7 separate regions of the Homo sapiens genome follow, and all the other regions are linked to region 3. Evidence: promoter capture Hi-C in 16 types of primary human blood cells and fetal thymus (Javierre and others, 2016). All regions are on one chromosome and are shown on one strand. The core of a region is centred on a gene start or on the middle of the fragment in contact, and the rest is flanking DNA. Distances in the headings are between cores, read along the strand shown. Region 1 holds the start of BEST4 (bestrophin 4). Region 2 overlaps ARMH1 (armadillo like helical domain containing 1). Region 3 holds the start of TESK2 (testis associated actin remodelling kinase 2). Region 4 overlaps ARMH1 (armadillo like helical domain containing 1). Region 5 has its middle 1.6 kb from the start of RNU5D-1. Region 6 holds the start of SNORD145 (small nucleolar RNA, C/D box 145). Region 7 overlaps RNF220 (ring finger protein 220).

Region 1 (2,969 bases), core at 214-2,713, 700 kb after region 3:
TCCACCTCCCAGGTTCAAGCGATTCTTCTGTCTCAGCCTCCGGAGTAGCTGGGATTACAGGCATGTGCCACCATGCTCAGCTAATTTTGTATTTTTAGTAGAGATGGGGTTTCTCCATGTTGGTCAGGCTGATCTCGAACTCCCGACCTCAGGTGATCCGCCTGCCTCGGCCTCCCAAAGTGCTGGGATTACAGGCGTGAGTCACAGTGCCTGGCCTTTTTTTTTTTTTTTTTTTTTGAGACAGAGTCTCTGTCACCCAAGCTGAAGTGCAGTGGCACAATCTCAGCTCACTGCAACCTCTCCCTCCCGGGTTCAAGCGATTCTCCCATTGAGATTCTATTTCTTTTTCTTTTTCTTTTTCTTTCTTTCTTTTCTTTTTTTTTTTTTTTTGATTACCCAGGCTAGAGTGCAGTGGCACGATCTCAACTCGTTGCAACCTGCGCCTCCCCAGGTTCAAGCAATTCTCCTGCCTCAGCCTCCCATGTACCTGCTGGGATTACAAGTTCGTGCCACCACACCCGGCTAATTTTTGTATTTTTAGTAGAGACAGGGTTTCACCATGTTGGGCCAGGCTAGTCTCGAACTCCTGACCTCAAGTGATCCACCTGCGTTGAGGCTGCCCAAAGTGCTAGGATTACAGGTGTGAGCCACCTTGCCTGGCAGCGGAAGTTCTATTTCTATCAGCGCCTTAGGTATTACTTCCTCCAGAGGTGAAAGTGGCCACTCAAATCTTGGGCACCCCTAGGAGTCAGGATGTTGGACACAGGGCTTAACGGAGCCTGCACTCCTAGGCCTGAGCTTCCAGATCTGTGGCTGTCAGCCCCGTGGCATGGATGGAGAAGAGCCTGGCCAAGCCCCCAAGCCCCTGTACAAGAAGACTGGGAGTGTGGCCAGTGCACAGGATGGGTCCTGGAGCTCATGCCTTTGCTAGGCCACTTCCAGCCTTGGAAGTCCATCAGCCCTGGCTTTGAATCCTGCCTCCAACATGTTCTAGCTGTATGGCCGACGGCGGGCAAGTCATTTACCTCTTGGAGCCTCATCTGTGAAATGTGGATGATTGATTCCCTACCTCATGGTGCTGTGATGAGGATTTCTTGAGAGGATGACCTAGTAGTGCCCTTGGCATGGTTCCTGTCACTTAGTCAGTGCTCTGTGATCAGCAGCTGGTATTATTATAACAGTTTATCATGCATCTGTCTTCCCACCTGAAACGTGGGACAATAACCCCTGTCATACTGGCTTGAAGGACATGGTGTCGTCTGTGTGAGCTGTGGGGTCAGTATAGCTGGCATTTCTGCCACTCGAAGGCCAGCCCAACCCTACAGGGGTAAGGAGACACACCCAGTTCCCAGCACCAGGGGAAGCTGGATGACAGCTTCAATCCATCAATGATAGGCCTCAGTCCAGCCTAACTTTATGGACTGCAGAGGTACTTAAGTCTGTGGGGGTTGAAGTCTAGCCCAGTTCATCTTCCACACGGGCTGCTGCCCAGAGCAGGTAGGCAGGTATGGGATGGGGGTGAGAGTGCCCTGGGCCCTGGTAGTTCTAGTTAATCAGCTTCCAAAGCAAGGCCCCAAGGAATAGCAGTGGATTTGGGCTGGAGCTGCGTCTCTTGTCCGCAGCAGTTCAGGATCTGGTTATCCCTAGCCCTGCAGGCTGAAGAGGAGCTTGAGGAAACCTCATGCATGAAGGGACACAGATCTCAGTTCTACCTTGTCCAACTCTAGCCTGGCTTTGCCCATGTACTGCTCAGTTCTGCAGGGGGTGGGGTGTACTTTTCTGCTCTGCAGGCTCCTACCCCCTTGTCCACTGACGCAGGGTGAAGGCTGGGGTGTGTGAGACCAGAGTGGAAGGGAGGTTGTCTGGAGAACTAAACGACAGCCCTGGGGGCAACTCTTGTGACCTCCTGCCCCAGGCTCCCAGCACCATGACGGTTTCATACACTCTCAAAGTGGCGGAGGCCCGCTTCGGAGGTTTCTCTGGCCTGCTTCTCCGCTGGAGGGGAAGCATCTACAAGCTCCTCTACAAGGAATTCCTCCTCTTTGGGGCCTTGTACGCTGTGCTTAGCATCACCTACCGGTAAGGGCAGGGTCTTAGAGCTGGCGCAAGTGGGGAGACTGGGCCACCCACCTCCCTCTAACCCAAGCCTACACCTGCCTTCCCCAGGCTGCTGCTGACCCAGGAGCAGAGGTACGTGTATGCTCAGGTGGCCCGGTACTGCAACCGCTCAGCAGACCTCATTCCCTTGTCCTTTGTATTGGGTAAGGCTCCCTTCTAGTTTTCCCTGTGTCCCCCTTACTGTGTTCCCTGACCTCTGGGTTGGGTTGACAGCTCCGAGGGTCAGAATTACCCAACAGATGGTGTGGTGACACACCTGCAGTCTCAGCTACTCGAGAGGCTGAGGTGAGAGGATCGCTTGAGCCCAGGAGTTCCAGTCCAGCCTGGGCAATGTAGCGAGACTCTGCTAAAAAAAAAAAAAAAAAAAAAAAGAATTACTCAACACGGTGGCAGAGCCTTCCTGGTCAGCCAGAGCAGGCCCAGCAGGCACAGGAGCTGGGTGCTGGGTCCAGGACTTCCAGAGGGCAGGGCCCTATCACTTGCCGGACCCTCACTTCCAGCAAGGCACAAGACACCTGCTGGCCTCACAAGCCCACCCTGGGCACTGCAGGGGAGCTGGACAGAGGTGACAACCCCTTCCCCACCCTCCTGGGAAGCAGTCTCCTGGCTTTGAATCCCCACTTTCCCTCTGCTGAAGGAAGTTTGCCCTCCTCCCTCCTCCTGGCCTCGCACAGCAGGGCACTGGAGCTGAATGTTTCCTTCCCCCTGCCACGATTCAACTGGCCTGGACCAGGCCCTTTGCTGGGGGAGGTGAGGCGCTCCGACCCCCAGGCTCTCCACTCTCCCTTCCTACTCCCTCTATCACGGCGGCCAAGCAGGTTTCTATGTGACTCTCGTGGTGAACCGCTGGT
Region 2 (3,088 bases), core at 387-2,886, 800 kb after region 3:
ACTGGGTGTGGTGGCTCACACCTGTAGTCCCAGCACTTTGGGAGGCTAAGGTGGGAAGATCGCATGAGGCCAGGAGTTTGAGACCAGCTTGGGCAACATAGCAAGACCCCGTGTCTAAAAAAATTTTAAAAACAGAAAAATTAGCTGAGTGTGGTGGTGCACGCCTATAGTCCTATCTGCTTGGGAGGCTGAGGTGAGAAGATCCTTTGAGTCTCCAGGAGTTTGGGGCTGCAGTGAGCTATGATTGTGCTGCTGTACTCCAGCCTGGGGAACAGAGGAAGACCCTGTCTCAAACAAACAAACAAACAAAAAAAGAACATTTGGGTAAACCTACAGATGTATTCCATGGTTATTCCCTTTGGCCTGTGTTACAGGCCTGAGTCTGAAAAATAATTTTATCAATAACTTAAATGTAAGAAAGAGAGCAGTGTTTACTTAAACCTTTAATTCTTCCCAGCTGCAGATGCTGGGTCATTCATTCCTCTACTCAGCAAACATGTGCCAGGCATTGTGCTACATGTTAGAAATATAAAGATAAGTAGAACAGATGCGATTCTTGCCCACTGGATCTAAAATCCAGTGGGGGGAAAGAGAGATATTAAGCAGGTAATAACAATAAAATGTTATGATTATTAAGGCAGAGGAAGTCTATGAATATATATAAGAAGGGAACCTAAGCTAGCCTGGGACTCAGAAATGGGCTTCCTGAGAAAGTGATGTTTAAATTGAGACCTGAATAATAGAGTAGGAGTTGGTCAAATAAGGAGGGGGTTTATTTATTTTTATAGAGATGAGGTCTTGCTCCATCGCCCAGGATAGAACACAGCGGTGTGATCATAGCTCACTGCAGCTTCAAACTCCAAGGCCTAAGTGATCCTCCCTCCTCAGCCTCCCAAGTAGCTGGGATTATAGGTGTAAGTCACTGTGCATGGGTCAAGGAAGGGGTTTAGAGAAGGCGAGAGGGTTCAGGCAAGGACAGAAATATACAATAAAAGGGTCTGAGATAAATCTGTAGAGTGCTATGGGCACACAGAGCAGGAATATCCTCAAATCCTCCTATAACTTGAACTATCACCTTGACGGTGACCAGATCTGTCTTTAGCCTTGACCTGCCTCCAGGGATCCTGAGCACAGACATCTCAAACTCAACATGTCCCAAAACAAGCTTATCTACCCTCAAGCTTACTCCTCTTCTTATGTTCTCTTCCACATAATGGCACCATATTCCCCTAGTTTACTAAGTCAGATATGTGACACTCATCTTGTGGCATATGAGTGAAGATGGATATATGGGTATGGAATAGTTGGATATATAGGTATGGAACTCAGATTCAAGAGAGAAATTTGGGCAGGGATACTTATTTGAAAGCCCTCATACAAGAGTGGTGTTGAATCTTGACAATGAACTAGTCCCTCAGGGAGAATCTGAGAGTGAGTAGAGAAGAGGGACGAGGATGGAATCCCAAGGAACAGCATTTAAGGGGTGGCTGAAGAAGAGCGGGAAATGCATAGACACCAAGATAATCGGTATCAGAGAAACCAGGAGTGTTTTGAGAAGTGGGAAAGGTTGATTGACAAATGCCACTGAGAGGTCACCTATAAGGACTGAGGATGCAGTCCCTGGGTTTTGCAACTGGAAAAACATGGGTAACCTTAGCAAGACCTGCATCAGTGGAGTGGGAGGCACCGAAGTCAGATGGCAGCAAGTGGAGAAAAGGGAGGAGAGGAAGTGGAGACAGGGAGACTCAACAACCTTTATTTTTATAATTTTTAAAAAATGTTTTGAGATGGAGTCTGTCTCTGTGGCCCAGGCTGGAGTACAATGGCGCGATCTTGGCTCACTGCAACCTCCGCCTCCCGGGTTCAAATGATTCTCCTGCCTCAGCCTCCCGGGTAGCTGGGATTACAGGCATGTGCCACCATGCCCAGCTAAGTTTTGTATTTGTAGTAGAGACGGGGTTTCCCTTGTTGGCCAGGCTGTCTCAAACTCCTGACCTCAGGTGATCCGCCCACCTCGGCCTCCCAAAGTGTTGGGATTACAGGCGTGAGTCACCGCGCCCCGCCCCTCAACAACCTTTTCAAGAAGCTTCACTGGGCGCGGTGTCTTATGCCTGTACTCCCAGCATTTTGAGGTCAGGAGTTTGAGACCAGCCTGGCCAACATGGTGAAACCCTGTCTCTACTAAAAATACAAAAATTAGCCAGGTGTGGTGGTACATGGCTGTAGTCTCAGCTACTCAGGAGGCTGAGGCAGGAGAATCACTTGAACTGGGGAGGCAGAGGTTGCGGTGAGCTGAGATTGTGCCATTGCACCCCAGCCTGGGCCACAGAGAGAGACTCTGTTTCAAATAAACAAACAAACAAAAGAAGCTTCACCATGAAGGGCAGAAATTGGGGTTGGGTGGAATATAGATTTGAAACAGGGATTCAATTTTATTTTTTAAAGTAGAAGAGATTTCAGCATATATAAATGCTGAAAAAACGCTGGTTATGAGGCAAAGGTGAAAGCTATAGGAGAGAAAGAATAAGGAGATAGGAAAGGGTTCAAGTGCAGTACAAATAGAGGATTAGCCCTAGACAGAAGGTATACCTACTTCAACTCTGATGGGAGCAAAAGAGGTTAGGGGTGAGAAAGAAATACAATTATAGGTTGGGAACACAGGAAGCTGAGAGAGTTCTTGACTCTAAGGATTTTTTTTTTATCACTTTTTTTTAAACACCAGATGTCTGTTCTAAAATATCAGAATCAAGAGAAAACCCCTTTGACAATCTCCTCTCCTTTTCATTTTTGAAGGCTGCCTAATTTTTGTTTGTTTGTTTGTTTTGAGACAGAGTCTCACTCTGTTGCCCAGGCTGGAGTGCAGTGGCATGATCTCGGCTCACTGCAACCTCTGCCTCCCGGGTTCAAGTGATTCTCCTGCCTCAGCCTCTTGAGTAGTTGGGGTTACAGGCACCTGCCACCACGCCTGGCTAATTTTTGTATTTTTAGTAGAGACAGGGTTTCACCATGTTGGTTAGGCTGGTCTCGAACTCCTGACCTTGTGATCTGCCCACCTTGGCCTCCCAAAGTGCTGGGATTACAGGCGTGA
Region 3 (3,203 bases), core at 236-2,735:
CCGGGCTCAAGCGATTCTCTTGCCTCAGCCTCCTGAGTAGCTGGGACTACAGGCACGCGCCAATACACCCAGCTAATTTTTCTATTTTTAGTAGAGACGAGGTTTCACCATGTTTGCCAGGATGGTCTCGATCTTCTGACTTCGTGATCCCCCTGCCTCGGCCTCCCAAAGTGGTGGGATTACAGGCGTGATCCACTGCTCCCGGCCCTGGCCATATTTCTTAAACTTTATGGCCACCAGGAATGCATACCACTTATACTCTTCCAGGAGGATGAAAGTCTTAAGATGTCTGAAAAGGGGTCTCTAACCCCTGGGAGTGCTAATACAGTAAGGCCCATACTGCTTGCTCTTGCCCTCCTCCTGTTCTAGTCTCTTCAGTCATGAGATTATGAGCTCCTGATGTCCAGGCACATGCAAAAAGTGAAGAAATATGTGCCTTGAACAGCTGGGCAGAATTCTTAGCTGGGAGCGGTGGCTCACGCCTGTAATCCCGGCACTTTCGTAGGCCAACGTGGGCCGATCACTTGAGTCCAGGAGTTACAGACCAGCCTGGGCAACATGGTAAACCCCGTCTCTACAAAATATACAAAAAATTAGTCAGGCATGCTGGCGTGTGCCTGTAGTCCCAGCTATCCGGGGAGGCTGAGTTGGGAGGATCATCTTAATCCAGGAGTTTGAGGCTGCAAGTGAGCCATGATCGCTCCATTGCACTCCATCATCCTGGGCGACAGAGTGAGACCCTTCTAAAAAAAAAACAACCAACAAAAACAACAAAAAATCCCAACTTATTCCCCACCAGCTTTCTTTCAAAATCTGTTTTCAAGCTAGCTGAAGTGTTACCTCCTCTAAGCTTTCACTTAACCGAATCTCATAGTCATGATTAATTGCTTCCCTAGCATTTTGTTTAGCTCTACTGATTGCTCTTACTATTTCAAGTCGGTATTATTGATATATTTTTTCCTCCTCACTATACTGAAATCCTGCAGGACGCAGCATTCTTACCGCTTTTCCTTACTCAGCTATACCTTGACCAACCCGAAAGCCGCGCCAGTCTAGTCCATTTTCTATTGGCTTTATCAATTACCAATCATTTCTGTGTTTAACATTTTTATTGGTCCATCTTGTGTTTACTGCCCCGCCCTCTAAGAGGCTCCTGGACTTGGGTTTCCCCCAGGTGTATTCCCTCCTCCTCGGTTCCGCCTTTCCCACACACTGCTTCTTCTGTTTTTACCTCGACTTCCTTCCTATTGGTTCCCTTCGTCCTCCGGAGTTGGCACCTACGGCTGTTGATTGGCTTTTCTGGACGCCCATTGTGCCCACCCTCATACCACGTGGCATTCCTAGCGCTAATTGGGCAATTCCACTACCTCGTTTATCAGGAGTTGACGGTTGACTGGCTACTCTGAGGGAGGGCTTGAGGGAGGGGCGTGGCCAGCCGAGACCCCGCCCCCAACCCCCCTGCTGGGCCGGGTAGGCGTTTCAGTCTTTCGCGGCCCGGGAGCTCAGCAGAGCTACCAGCTGCCCTGTTGGCTTCGCTGGTCGGATCGTCCTCCTGGCCCCGCCAAACAGGCGGGGGGAGCGGCCCCGACTGTGGGGCCATGGCAGTAGTCTCCTCGTTCGCCGCCGCCGCTAGCCTAGCTGAGTCGCCGGCTTCTGCGCTAGGGGCTCCCACCGCCTCCGCAGGCTAAGGAGCCGCTGCCACCAACGAGCTGTGAGGGTTACTATGCTCCCTCTTTGCCGCCGTCTCCTCCTCTTGCCCGCGCAGGCACCCCTCTGGCTGCTCAGTCCTGCCTCAGGTAACGTGAAAAGAGGACGGGGGTCACAAACCCGGGCATCCTGCCTGGCCCGCGCGCGCTGCCGCTCCACCTCCTCTGCCCCGGAGCAGAGGCGCCTGCGTCCCTCCGCACCCGACGGGACCCCTCGGCTTCCCAGAGGTCCCCCTCTCAGCGGCGGCGGACGCTCCCTTCCTGGCCGCTTTCCCCTTTCCTTCTCACTTCCCTCAGGCTCCCCGCCACGTCTGCTCCCCCTTAGAACCTGGGAACCCATTAGAAGTTACCTCGCTCGCATTAGGGATCTTTCGTTTTCTCGGAAAACTCTTGTTTCAGAGACTTCCAGCTCCCCACTGAGCGCCTCCCTGCTCGCATACCCGCTCCTGCCTCAGAGATCTGGGTTCCTTCACTTGACTTCCCTCCGATACACTCTTCCCTCGAAAACGTTCACCTCTACCCAGGAAAACAATTCCCTCCCCTCAGACCCTACTGCCTTCCCCCTCTTCTTTCCTCGCTTGTCATCGTCTCCCTTCCTTTCCCCTCTCTGCTTTTTACTCTTCGCTGTGAAGAGTGGACTAAGCCAGTGTTCAGATTTCGCTACAAGCGAAATCCAGGTTTGCGTAATTTAAAAGTCTTTAAATTGTATACCTCTGAGAAGAACTTGCTGAGGAATTTGGACTTCATGCTGCATGCATGGGGAGCCGTTGAAGGTTTTGTAAGCAGGAGCTTGGTATGATTGCATTATCTTTGGTGAAAATATAGAGGAAGGATTGAAAGTGAAGACCGTGGAGGCGGAAAGGCCAGGTAGGCAGAAAACGAGTGTGCTCATCCAGGCGGGAGGGAATGGCCCGAAATTCCAAGAGGTTTCAAAATAAAGTTGAGAAGAATAGTAGAAAGTTTCTGACTTGGCTGATGGTGTGAATCGGTAGTGTTAATTGAAATAGGGAACATAGTCTCTGGTTATACCACCCTCAACGCTCCTGATCTCATCTGAAATAGGGAGCATAAAAAAGCAATTTTGAGAGAAGGTAATAAATTTGGTTTTGAACAAGTTAAGTTTCAGGGTTTGTTTGTTAGTTTTTGTTTTTTTTGACGGAGTCTCATTCTGTCACCCAGGCTGGAGTGCAGTGGCACGATCTCAGCTCACTGCCACCTCCTCCTCCCAGGTACAAGCGATTCTCCTGCCTCAGACTACCGAGTAGCTGGGATTACAGGCATGCGCCACCACGTCCGGCTAATTTTTGTACTTTTAGTAGAGACGGGGTTTCCCCACGTTGGCCAGGCTGGTTTCGAACGTCTGACCTCAGTCAATCCGCCCACCTCGGCCTCCCACAGTGCTGGGATTACAGGCGTGAGCCACTGCTCCCAGCCGAGTTTGAGGTGTTTTGAAATATCACTGTGGGTATCTGGAAATTTGGGTCTGAAAATTGGGAG
Region 4 (2,973 bases), core at 114-2,613, 780 kb after region 3:
GACAGAGCGAGACTCCGTCTTAAAAAAAAAAAAAGTGCAAAGCAAAGGCATAACGTTCTGTAAGGCAAAAACACTAGTTTTTAAATGAGACCCAGGTGGTGCAGTGGCTCACGCCTGTAATCCTAGCACTTTAGGAGGCTGAGGCGGGTATATCACCTGAGGTTAGGAGTTTGAGACCAGTCTGACCAACACGGTGAAACCCTGTCTCTACTGAAGTTATAAAAATTAGCTGGGCGTGGTGGCACATGCCTGTAATCCCAGCTTCTTGGGAGGCTGAGGCAGGAGAATCGCTTGAACCTCGGAGGCAGAGGTTCCAGTGAGCCAAGATCGCACCACTGCACTCCAGCCTGGGCAACAGAGCAAGACTCCATCTCAAAAAAAAAAAAAGAAAAAAGAAGAAATCCTGATGTATTTGCTTAACCCTGTGAGGGGTATGAAGCTAAGAAAACATAATTTTAAAAATATGGTTTACTGTAATCTTAACAATGTTGTCTGTCCTTTTTTTTTTTTTTTTTTTTTTGCGGTTCCCTGTAGCTGGGACCACAGGTGTGAGCCACCATGCCCAGCTAATTTTTGTAGTTTTAGTAGAGACAGAGTTTCATGGAGTTTCACTCTTGTTGCCCACTCTGGAGTGCTGTGGCACGATCTCGGCTCACTGCAACCTCTGCCTCCCAGGTTCAAGTGATTCTCCTACCTCAACCTCCCAAGTAGCTGGGATTACAGGCTCCTGCCACATATCCAGATAATTTTTGTATTTTTAGTAGAGAGAGGATTTCACCTTGTTGCCCAGGCTGGTCTCGAACTCCTGGCCTCAGGTGATCCGCCCGCCTTGGATTCCCAAAGTTCTGGGATTACAGGTGAGAGCCCCTGCGCCCAGCCAGGTCTCAAACTCTTGGCCTCAAGTGATCTGCCCGCCTCGGGCTCCCAAAGTGCTGGGATTAAAAGGGTGTCCTTGGGTTTTTATCTACTTCTCAAAGCTGGTAAAAACAAGGCAAGTCTTGTTCTAATACTGAAGAAAGAATAGTGTGGTGGTGAGGGGATGGGCGCAGGAGGCAGACTGACTGGGTTTGATCTACAGCTTTCTCATTTATCATTTTGAGACTGTGGACAGGTTATTTAATTGCTTTGTGCCTCAGTTTCCTCATCTGTAAACTGGGGATGAAAATAGTACCTACTTCACAGAGTTGTTCTGAGGAATAGATGAGATGGTAAAAGAGCTTAGAACAATGCTGGGCACACAGTCATTGTTGGTCACTAGTAGTAGTTATGAGTTAACATTACCATTAGTATCACTGTTGTAACAAAGCTCTGTGAGAACAAGGACTTGTTTCATTTGTCACTATACTCTCAGTGCCCACCCCAGTGCCATTCTTTTTGAATAAGTAAATGAATAAATGAGAAACTTAAATCATTGAAAATGAAAACAACAAAGGACATTATCAAGAAGGTGAAAAGAACCTACAGAATGGGAGAAACCATATATTTGATGAGCACAGAAACTAGAATATATGAAAAACTCTTACAACCCAACAACCAATTTTAAAATGGAAAAAGGACCTGAATAGACATTTCTCCAAAGAAGAAATACAAATGGACAACAAGTCTATGAAACACGTCTATGTTCAACATCCTTATTCATTAGGAAAATGCACTTCGCATCCACTAAGATGGCTATAATTAAAGAATCCCCAGAATAACAAGTTTGGTGAGGAAGTGGAGAAATTGGAATCCTCATATATTGCTGCTACTGGGAATGTAAAATGGTACAACTACTGTGGAAAACAGTTTAGTGGGTTCCTCAACGAGTTAAACAGAATTACCATATGATCCAGCAATTCCACTCCTAGGTAATATACCCCAAAGAACTGAAAACAGGTACTCAATTACATGTATGTGGATGTTCATAGAAGCACTGGTTCACAAGAGCCAAAGGCTGGAAATAGCCCGAATGTCTAATAATGAATGAATGGATAAACAAATTGTGGTAGATACATACAACGGAATATTATTCATCCACAAAAAGGAATGAAGTACTGATGCATGTTACAATGTGGGTGAACCTTGAAAATATTATGCTAAGTGGAAGAAGCCAGACATAAAAGTCATGTATTGTATAATTCCATTTATGTGAAATATATGGAATAGGTAAATCCATAGAGACAGAATGAAGATTGGGGCTTCCCAGGGACTGGAGGGAGTGGAAGGGGAATAGCTGCTCGCTGAATTCAGGGTTTCCTTTTGGGGGGATGAAAATGTTTTGGAACTAGATAGAGATGGTGGTTGTACAACACTGTGAATGTATACTAAATGCCACTGAATTGTTCACTTTAAAATGGTTAATTTTATGTTATGTGAATGTCATCTCAGTTAAAAAATGTGCTTTTATGAAGAAAGAAGTAAACCAAATCTGTGATTAATTTCTTTTCTTTTTTTTTTTTTTTTTTTTTGAGACGGAGTCTTGCTCTGTTGCCTAGGCTGGAGTGCAGTGGCATGATCTCGGCTCACTGCAAGCTCCACCTCCTGGGTTCACGCCATTCTCCTGCCTCAGCCTCCCGAGTAGCTGAGACTACAGGCGCCCACCACCACGCCCGGCTAATTTTTTGTATTTTTAGTAGAGACGGGGTTTCACCGTGTTAGCCAGGATGGTCTCGATCTCCTGACCTCGTGATCCACCTGCCTTGGCCTCCCAAAGTGCTGGGATTACAGGTGTGAGCCACCATGCCCGGCCAATCTGTGATTAATTTCTAGATCAATCATACCTCTTAGAATTAGGAACCTAAGTAACTTTACACAGCCAAGAACCGAAGGAAACTAACAATGAGGTTCTTGCGACCACCAGTCTCTCCAGGTTTCAGGGGGCCAGGGGAGGAGGTGTCACGCATTCAAAGCCTTGTCCATGTCTGTTCGGTTTGGTCAGTTAGGGCCACTGTTTCCCTGCACTAGCATCTCTAGAGGATTCCACTGTGTTAGTGC
Region 5 (3,021 bases), core at 388-2,887, 760 kb after region 3:
GCTGAGGCGGGCAGATCACTTGATCTGGCCAACATGGTAAAATCCCATCTCTATTAAAAATACAAAAATTAGCCGGGTGTGGTGGCGGGCGCCTGTAATCCCAGCTACTCAGGAGGGAGGCTGAGGCAGGAGAATTGCTTGAACCCGGGAGGCAGAGATTGAAGTGAGCCAAGACTGCACCACTGCACTCCAGTCTGAGCAACAAGAGCCAAACCCCATCTCAAAAAAAGAAAAAAGAAATAAGCATAATGAACATCTTCAAAAGATAAGGAAGGATATTGTTAAGGCAGGAAGAAGCAACTGAAAATACCAGGCTTGAAAAATTTAATAGTTGAAATCCATACATGAATTGAATAGCAGAATGGTTACAGCCAAAATGAAATGAGGAGCAACAGGATCAAGGGTGAGGATTCACCCAAAAGACATCAGGAAGGGATAAAGAAAATAGGGTAGAAAACAAATGAACCAACTGTTTGTGACATACACTGTTGATGGTTAATTCAGCAGGTATTCTCAACCCCCTTCTTCCTAAATCATTTCCACATTAGAGACTGAAAAAGCTTTATAGTTACTATACTTCCTTTCCCAGACTCCCATGCAATTAGAGCTGGCCATGGGACACAGTTCTGGCCAATGAGATGTAAGCAGGAGAGTTCTGGGGGCTTGTGGGCAAGACTTGTTGTTTTTCTGTTAAAAGGGAATGACAGAAAATGCTTTCCTGGTGTCATCCCTTTTTTCTTGGCTTGGACATGGGATGTTCTTTCTGGAGTTGTGACAGCTGCCTTGTGGTCATGAGGCAGGAGACAGTAATTTGGTTAAAAGCCAACATGCTCAGGACAGCCAAGTACAGCAGGAAGAGCCTAAGAGGGTTCTTGATGGTTCAGTAGTTGAACCAATGCTAGCGACTACCTACTTCCATATATATACATTTTTAATTTCTATCTCCATATGTCATTTTTTTTTTTTTTTTTGAGACAGAGTCTCGCTCTGTCGCCCAGGCTGGAGTGCAGTGGTGAGACCTCAGCTCACTGCAACCTCTGCCTCCCGGGTTCAAGCAATTCTCCCAAGTAGCTGGGATTACAGGCGTGTGCCACCATGCCCAGGTAATTTTTTATATTTTTAGTAGAGATGGGGTTTCACCATGTTAGCCAGGATGGTCTTGATCTCCTGACCTCCTGATCCACCTGTCTCCATACTTCTTGTTGTGTGAATAAGTTTCTACATTTCTAGAAAAAAAAAGTCAAAAATGTCAAAACTGGCACAAGAAAATTTAGTACATTTTTAGTAAAATTTTTAGTAAATTTTAGAATATTTAGTAAATGTTTTATCATTCCATTTGCTTTAATAGCTAATAAAGGAATGATCAAAAATTTTCTGGCCAGGTGCAGTGGCTCATGCCTGTAACCCCAGCACTTTGGGAGGCCAAGGCAGGAGGATTGCTTGAGGTCAGAAGTTCAAGACCAGCCTGGGCAGCATAGCAAGATGTCATCTCTACAAAAAATTTAAAAATTAGCCAGCTGTGGTAGTATGCTTCTGTAGTCCTAGCTACTTGGGAGGCTGAGGCAGGAGGACTGCTTGATCCCAGGAGTTCAAGACTTCAGTGGCCCTCGATTGCACCACTGCACTCCAGCCTGGGACACAGAGCAAGACACTGTCTCAAAAAAAAAAAAAAAAAAAAATGCCAGGCGCAGTGGCTCACGCCTGTAATCCCAGCACTCTGAGAGGCCAAGGCGGGCAGATCACGAGGTCAGGAGATTGAGACCATCCTGGCTGACAGAGTGAAACTCCCATCTCTACTAAAAATACAAAAAATTAGCCAGGCGTGGTGGTAGGCGCCTGAGTCCCAGCTACTCAGGAGGCTGAGGCAGGAGAATGGCATGAACCCGGGAGGCGGAGCTTGCAGTGAGCAGAGATCGCGCCACTGGACTCCAGCCTGGGGGACAGAGCGAGACTCTTTAAAAAAAAAAAAAGTGTATGATCGAATGGTAATAAACTGGATGGGTGGGGGGGGTACTTGGCAAAGCCTGTTTGTTCAGATTATTCTTGGCCTCTGTGTGACATTCATTCCCTGTGGGCATAAGGCAGGACACTGGTCACACGAAGGTCTTCATGGGAGAAGAGAAGGAAAAGGTCAAAAATAACTTCCTGCTTATATAGTTTTCTCAGTTTCTTTGATGGCTTAAAATACTCAGTATGCCAAGGTGCCATATGTTGGGGTATCATGTTCTAAGCCCTGACACCTCTGTAACAACTCAGAATTTCTTCTCCGGGCTTCCTTCAGGTAAGGTGAAAATAAACTTCTTGCTTGTTCAAGCTACTCTTTTTGGAGTCTTTGTTACATACTGTGGAAGGCAGAGGGATGATACAAAATTCAGTATTTGCTATGATGTGGTTTTCTTTTCTTTTCTTTTGAGGTGGAGTCTCCTGTTGCCCAGGCTGGAGTGCAGTGGTGCAGTCTCGGCTCATTGCAGCCTCCGCCTCCTGGGTTCAAGCAATTCTCCTGTCTCAGCCTCCCAAGTAGCTGTGACTACATGCGAACGCCACAACGCCCAGCTAATTTTTGTATTTTTAGTAGAGACGGGGTTTCACCATGTTGGCCAGGATGGTCTCGATCTCCTGACCTCGTGATCCGCCCGCCTCGGCCTCCCAAAGTGCTGGGATTACAGGCGTGAGCCACCGCGCCAGGCCTATGAATACAATTATTTTAAAGCTTTTAATTTTTTTTTTTTTTACTTTAAGTGCCAATTATAAAATAAAGTCACTGTCTAGTTGGACCAGGCATCTACAGTTCTGTAAATCTGGCTTCCGCTCTGCCCCCTGGTGGTGGCCTAACGCCTAGAAAAAGTAACGAACTATTTAAGGTATTTCTGGAAACCGAGGGGGTGGTGACTCAGCGTCATTTACATACCCACAATGCACTGCACACAGACCACGTCCTACTTTAAAAGGAGATTCTCCCTTTTTTCCCCCTCTTTTCCTTTACCATAATAACGAAGCTCCTTTCACACAATCGTCTGAGAC
Region 6 (2,875 bases), core at 182-2,681, 820 kb after region 3:
CAGGCCAGTGATCCCCTCAGTCTCTCAATACCCTCTCTTACTTCATTTCATTTGGGAAGGGTCTCTCCTGGGGCTCCCATAAGCACTATATTTTCCTGTTGTCGTGTTTTTGATGGCTTCACTCACTGTCACCAGGGCCTGGGAGGGATGATGTACCAAGTGAGCTGAATGGAATCACTTGGCAGCACTGTAGGCCCAAGCCAGAGCTGCTCTGACATCCCAGGCCCAGGCCGTGCCACCCCTCCTCCCATCCAGAGAATGGTCAGCCAAGTCCCACCTAGATCCCCTCTGTGACTTGCTCATAGGCCAGCAACCTTCTTAAAGGCACCGTGTGGCTCTCATGTTCAGTAAACATAAAGAAAAATTCATTCATAGAATTAATGAGTCTGGGGCCTGGTCATGGGACAAACATTTTGCTCTTAAAGTAAACAGAAGGTCTTAAGGGGATCACAGAGAGGGGAAGTGAGGGGGTTTTTGCTCCCCAGGTTTTACCGCATGCCTTTTTTGCTCATCACTGGCTGAGGTCAAAGAAATATAGACATCATTTTAACCCTCAGGAAGTTGTCTCGGACACCCAGGAGACAGTGCTGAAGGGTCTGGACCACCATGGTGGGCCCTGTGGTGGGAGAGGCTTCCTAGAGTAGAGCAGCCCAAGCTGGACCTGAAGCTTCAGGAGGGCTGACAGACCCCCATGGTGAGCAGCAGAAAGTGTGGAAGTCAAGTCCATGGCCATACCACCTTGAACATGCAGATCTCAGAAGCTAAGCAGTGTCAGGCCTGCTTGGAACTTGGATGGGAGAAAGTGCAGAAGTAAATCCCTGAAGGGGGACAGTGAGTGGCTGGAGGGAACAGGGGCCTGGCAGGAGGCCGCGCTGTGCTTTTGTGGGTGGAGAATTAGATGAAAACCTGAAGATCTGTCATGATGGACAGACCTCAAAGACCCAGGTGAAGAGAGTCGTTTGGGATTTGATCCTTGTCTTGTCTACGAGGACCCCAAAGGTCTTTTTTTTTTTTTTTAATACAGAGGAGTTGTATTTATTTTTGGAATCATGATCTCTTTTCTTTCACCTCTAGATAAGAGCCCTTTCTGGCTGGGCGTGGTGGGTCACACCTGTAACCCCAGCACTTTGGGAGGCCGAGGTTGGCGGATCACCTGAGGTCAGGAGTTCGAGACTAGCCTGACCAATATGGAGAAACCCCATCTCTACTAAAAATACAAAATTAGCCGGGTGTGGTGGCGCATGCCTATAATCTCAGCTACTCAGGAGGCTGAGGCAGGAGAATCGCTTGAACCTGGGAGGCGGAGGTTGCAGTGAGCCGAGATTGTGCCATTGCACTCCAGCCTAGGTAACGAGAGCGAAACTCCGTCTCAAAAAAAAAAAAAAAAAATAGGATGCTTTCTAAGTGTCTGCTCTATGCCAGGTGCTGGTGCTGTACTAGACCCTGGATTTGAGATCCAGGCCTCTTTGCAGGCCTCCTTTTCTCTGAATGTCTGTGGTACTTAACACTGTTAACCATGTTCTATCCACATGCCAGGCCCACCAGGAGCTCCTTTCATTATTTTATTAATCCTCACAACCACCTTGTGAAGTAGGGAGAACCCTTAATCCTGTTTTACAGATGAAGAACAGATGCTCGTGGGGAGGTAAAGTGTCTTGCCCAAAGTAATTCCAGATTTCAGCTTAAGAGCCTTACTCCAGAGCTTGTGCATGCCGAGATTTCAGTTGCCATTAGGAGGGGCTGCCTGAATACGATGCCATTTCTAGGAAACAATTAGGGACATGCACAAAGAAAGGGGTGTCCATTAAAGTATTTTTATAACAGCAAAAAATTGGAAACAGCATCATATCCAATAATGGGAGATTTGGTCACCATAAATTATGAAACATTCTATAGCCTCTCTGAAGCCACTAAAAATAATGGTGTAGAAATATATAAACTGACAGGGAAAAATGTTCACAATATATTGCCAAACGGAAGAAAGCAGATTACAAACAATATGATTCCAATTTTATTAGATATTCATTTTCTACTTTTTCTACAGTGAGTATGCATTACTTGTGAAGTAATAATAATTTCAATTTATTGAACTCTTTCCTTCTGCCAGGCACCATGATAAGCCCTCTATAGCTATTATCATATTTAATTCTTTGTATCATTGTCCCCATTTCACAGATAAGGAAATTGAAGCTTAGAGAACTTGATTAAGGTCTGTGTCATAGTTATTAAGTGGCAGAGGCAGAGATTTGAACCGAGATATGATTTTGTACAGTATGTACTCTTAGATACTATGCTACTCTGCTCTGCTCTTCTTTTAAAAAGTAAATAAAAAATAAAGTAATTTGGCCGGGTACAGTGGCTCACGCCTGTAATCCCAACACTTTGGGAGGCCGAGGGGGGTGGATTGCTTGAGCCCAAGAATTTGAGACCAGCCTGGGCAACATGGCCAAACCCTACCTCTGCAAAATAATACAAAAATTAGCTGAGCATGGTGGTGCTTGCCTATAGTCCCAGCTACTTGGGAGGCTGAGGTAGGAGGATTACCTGAGCCCAAGAGTTCGAGGCTGCAGTGAGCCATGACTACACCACTGCCCTCCAGCCTGGGCAACACAGAAAGACCTTGTCTCAAAGAAGAAAAGAAAAATTTGATTTAAATATAGGAACTGTGAGACACTAGAAAGTTTTTCTGGGGAGTAGAGAAAATTAAGACTCTTTCAATTTTTTGCATGTTATTTTATTTTTATTTTTATTTTATTTTATTTTTAAGACAGAATATCGTTCTGTCGCCCAGGCTGGAGTGCAGTGGTGCGATCTCAGCTCTGGGTTCACGCCATTCTCTTGCCTCAGCCTCCGGAGTAGCTGGGACTATAGGCGC
Region 7 (3,140 bases), core at 119-2,618, 860 kb after region 3:
TTTGAATCCAAAAGGGGGGCTGCTAGGTAGTGCATACACGGCCTGCTTTCAGAGAAGGCCTCTAAGAGCTGTCGAGCCCACGCTGATCACCTTTGTGAAATGTGGGCCGACTGATAACTCAAAGAGCCCTGGGATGAGTTAGTTCCTGTTGCCGTGGGAACTCCAGATCTCACTGTATTGTCAAGTCTCAGCAGAGGGGCTGTATTCACACTACTGGGCACTGATTAAAAACTGGAAGAAAAACATTCTCAGCGCCCTGCAGGTTTGTATAGTGAGGTCCCAGCAGTTTGCAAATTCAAAGCTGAGCTCCCGAGTAGAATTGTGTAGCTCGTTCCTCATTCTCCGGCACTTATTGCCCCCCCAGGGTTCTTCAGGGCCTTTAGAGAGGTTTGGGCAAGAGCTGGGCGCCATACCTCCATTAGACAGACGGGGAAACTGAGAGCGGCAGCTTTGGTTTGCACATACTCAGGCGCCGTGACTGCGAAGAAGCCAACGGGCCCCAGAGTCGAAGAGACCCAGGCAAGCCAGGAGCGGCAGGCAGTGAGGGAGGGAGGGAGGAGGCCGGGGGTGGGGCGGAGGGAGGGGCCGGGCAGGACTCACCATTCAGTCGGGTCTGCCGGTTGGCTCGTACTCGCAGAAAGGTCTGGGAGAAGATCGCGGGCAGATGCAAGAAAAGAAAAGAGAGCGTCAGGCGCGGCCTGCAGTCCTGGCCCCCGCCCCAGCACCGGACCCCCGACCAAAGCTGCTCCGCCCCAAACAGCCCGTAAACAAACCTACTTCCTCCCTCCCGCCGGCCCCTCTGCTCCTCCGGCCGCTCCGGGCTCTCGGCATAGCCGCCGGGCGCTGCTCTAACGGGACCCCGTGGCCGCTGCGCGGTGCCGCCCCAGCCCTGGCCTCCGGCGCTCTGGGCCCCACGGCCGCCCGGCCGGCGAGGGCGGCGATGCGGGCGGATTCCCCGTGGCTGCCCGGCGGCGGCGGCACTTCAGCTCCAAGCGGCGGCGGCGGCCATGTTGGCCCTAATCACGTGATCTGCCGCCGTCGCGCGCTGGGGGTGAAAGTTCACAATGCGGCGGGGGCGGCCGGACAGAGACCAGGAAGCTGCCGTTTGTACTCGGGTAGCAACCGGCAGAAGCCTCCCCGGGGTCCCTCCCACCGCCCGTGAAGCCTACCCACCCAATCTTTAGCGGCTGCGAAGTCCTTCCACCCCACTCCACGACCCCTCCCGCTGCGGGGCTCCTTCCGCCCCATCGCCCGGCCCCGGCTCCCGCCTCCTGTGCCTGCCTTTCTCGCGGCTGCCCTTAGGGCAGAGGCATCGCGTTGGGTGCTTTACAGGGGACAAGGCGTCCGAATTCCCTATCGCCTGTGGGCGATCCCCGCCCAACCCCTAGGCCATCCAGTTCTGTTATCAGAGGACTCCCAACATGTCAGCTGTCTGCTGCACGGCCCCTGGAGCTCCCATAGGCACTGCATACCCACACGGCCAACATGGCCAACATGGAACTCAGTATCCTCCAAACAGAGGCCTTCCTCTTGGGTTCCCTGTTCATAAGAGGAAGCCACTATCTACTCAGGTGTGCCCACAGAAGAAAGTTGAGAGTCGTCCTGGACCCCACTTTCTCCATCCCTCACACTCAATCCTTTTCTAGATCCTGAAAGTGTACATTGAAAGGTCGCTAATTTTCTCATCTCCACCTCTGTATCTCCTACTCATCCTTCCAGGTCTAACTGAAAAATAGCTTTGCCTTGTGTAAGAGTACATTCATCTCTGCGCCGTTATCATCGCTTGTGAAGTTTTTATCAGTGGACTGACCACTTCAGGGTTGGGGCCGTGTGTGAATTATTTGGGTGAACCCAGAGCCCAGCATGGCACTGGGCAAAGGCAAGTCAGCCCTGAGTTGTTCTTCCATGGTTGTACCTACCTTGGTTGTCGTTGTGCTCCAGTCATACATAATCTTACGAGCTCTCGAAATTTGCAGCTGTTCCCGTCTCATCTTTTGGTCTCTAGCTTCTCTCTCTGCAACCCATCCTCCACACTACACACAATGTGATCTTTCTATTGGACAAAATTAACCCTCTCCTTCTTTAAATCCTTCAGTGGTTCTCCATCAAGGCATATAGGCCTTCCCTGTCTGCCTTGCCAGACTCTTCTCTCACTCCTATTCTCTCCCTTTACATTCCTGACACTCAGCTTTGCAGAGCTAACTAGCTCTTTGAGCACTCCATGCTCTGCACTCCAGGCCAGAGAGCCTCCATGCCCTCCAGTATCCCTTGCTTGGTTAACTGTTGTTCATCCTTCAGGACTCTGGCAAGACTTAGTTTTGTCCCCCAAGCCTGGGTTTGATGCCTCCTCTGAGTTTTCAGTTCCACTGCTTCTCTTTGATCATGTATATTTTGATTGTTTGTTTACATATCTGTCCCTTGTACTTGGAAGGTCATCTCTAGCCATTTACCCAGCACAGCGTCTTGCATGAAGGAGACACCAGTGGGAACGGGAGAAAGACTTTATGAGATAAGCCCTGAGCCCAGTGATGGGTTGGGAAACAATCTCGGATTTAGGGCCAGACAGACTCAAGTTCAAGTCCTAATTCTGTTACTTACAATTTATGTGTTCTTAGAAGAGTCACCTCTTTCTAGGCCTGTTTCCTTGGTAATAGACTGGGCATGATGAATACAGTTGCTATGAGGTTTAAGTGAGGTAATGATAAAGAGGGTTAGTTAGTCAGCAGGGGCTAAGTAAATGAGAATTCAAACCAGAAACCAAGGCTCATGCCTTTAATCTTAGCACTTTGGAAAGCCAATGCAGGAGGATTGCTTGAGCCCAGGAGTTCAAGACCAGCCTGGGCAATATAGTGAGACCCTGTCTCTATGAAAAACAAAAACAAAACCCCAGAAACCAATACCCCCTGGTTTCAAGGCCTAGCTCAGTGACTTTAAAAATCCGACATAGCTGAACAACTACTACATGCCAGGCCTTGTGTAAAGAGCAAGGGATGGGATACCCAGCTAGTCTCTGGGTTGCTTTCCAGCTTCACCTACTAACTTTCCTTGCATTCTACTTTCTAACAAAAGCAAACTGCTAGCAGGTCCCCAGATACATCATTCTGTTACACCTCTATGTTCTCTACATAGTGTTGTCTTTA

What was found. The method cuts DNA at HindIII sites, captures the fragments that hold promoters and counts their contacts. A CHiCAGO score of 5 or more calls a contact.
Region 1: a contact is called between the fragment with the promoter of BEST4 here and the fragment with the promoter of TESK2 in region 3, in 13 of 17 cell types (erythroblasts, naive CD4 T cells, megakaryocytes and 10 more). The highest score is 16.0, in erythroblasts.
Region 2: a fragment that was not itself captured here is called in contact with the fragment with the promoter of TESK2 in region 3 in 1 of 17 cell types (total CD4 T cells); the score reaches 5.1 in total CD4 T cells.
Region 4: a fragment that was not itself captured here is called in contact with the fragment with the promoter of TESK2 in region 3 in 8 of 17 cell types (naive CD4 T cells, total CD8 T cells, total CD4 T cells and 5 more); the score reaches 15.0 in naive CD4 T cells.
Region 5: a fragment that was not itself captured here is called in contact with the fragment with the promoter of TESK2 in region 3 in 10 of 17 cell types (fetal thymus, erythroblasts, total B cells and 7 more); the score reaches 13.8 in fetal thymus.
Region 6: a contact is called between a fragment that was not itself captured here and the fragment with the promoter of TESK2 in region 3, in 1 of 17 cell types (naive CD4 T cells). The highest score is 5.1, in naive CD4 T cells.
Region 7: a contact is called between a fragment that was not itself captured here and the fragment with the promoter of TESK2 in region 3, in 1 of 17 cell types (non-activated CD4 T cells). The highest score is 5.9, in non-activated CD4 T cells.

The regions. Positions count from the first base shown.
Region 1 is chr1:44,786,664-44,789,632 of GRCh38, reverse strand. It overlaps BEST4 (bestrophin 4), which reads left to right and starts at 1,463. Exons shown (of 9, transcript NM_153274.3): 1 at 1,463-2,079; 2 at 2,167-2,261; 3 at 2,937-2,969. The coding sequence starts at 1,928. RefSeq lists enhancers at 2,235-2,920, 2,922-2,969, 2,921-2,969. The HindIII fragment of the contact is 5,761 bases long and covers 1-2,969 here.
Region 2 is chr1:44,689,954-44,693,041 of GRCh38, reverse strand. The region is part of intron 2 of ARMH1 (armadillo like helical domain containing 1); the gene reads right to left. All of the region lies in intron 4 of LOC105378690 (a long non-coding RNA gene), which reads left to right. Among named protein-coding and RNA genes, the nearest start is that of ARMH1, 17 kb to the right of the region's middle. The HindIII fragment of the contact is 905 bases long and covers 1,184-2,088 here.
Region 3 is chr1:45,489,445-45,492,647 of GRCh38, reverse strand. It overlaps TESK2 (testis associated actin remodelling kinase 2), which reads left to right and starts at 1,485. Exons shown (of 11, transcript NM_007170.3): 1 at 1,485-1,796. RefSeq lists enhancers at 1,197-1,491, 1,778-1,827 and a silencer at 1,328-1,547. The HindIII fragment of the contact is 2,357 bases long and covers 853-3,203 here.
Region 4 is chr1:44,710,083-44,713,055 of GRCh38, reverse strand. The region is part of intron 6 of ARMH1 (armadillo like helical domain containing 1); the gene reads right to left. All of the region lies in intron 2 of LOC105378690 (a long non-coding RNA gene), which reads left to right. Among named protein-coding and RNA genes, the nearest start is that of RNU5F-1, 10 kb to the left of the region's middle. The HindIII fragment of the contact is 9,625 bases long and covers 1-2,973 here.
Region 5 is chr1:44,731,262-44,734,282 of GRCh38, reverse strand. No RefSeq gene overlaps it. Among named protein-coding and RNA genes, the nearest start is that of RNU5D-1, 1.6 kb to the right of the region's middle. RefSeq lists a silencer at 712-1,006. The HindIII fragment of the contact is 2,150 bases long and covers 563-2,712 here.
Region 6 is chr1:44,668,312-44,671,186 of GRCh38, reverse strand. The region is part of intron 1 of TMEM53 (transmembrane protein 53); the gene reads left to right. SNORD145 (small nucleolar RNA, C/D box 145) reads left to right here and starts at 131; the gene lies at 131-230. The HindIII fragment of the contact is 1,523 bases long and covers 670-2,192 here.
Region 7 is chr1:44,629,846-44,632,985 of GRCh38, reverse strand. It overlaps RNF220 (ring finger protein 220), which reads right to left. Exons shown (of 15, transcript NM_018150.4): 6 at 601-643. Among named protein-coding and RNA genes, the nearest start is that of SNORD145, 40 kb to the left of the region's middle. RefSeq lists enhancers at 1-220, 290-379, 990-1,079, 770-1,317, 1,410-1,509 and a silencer at 650-959. The HindIII fragment of the contact is 3,724 bases long and covers 1-3,140 here.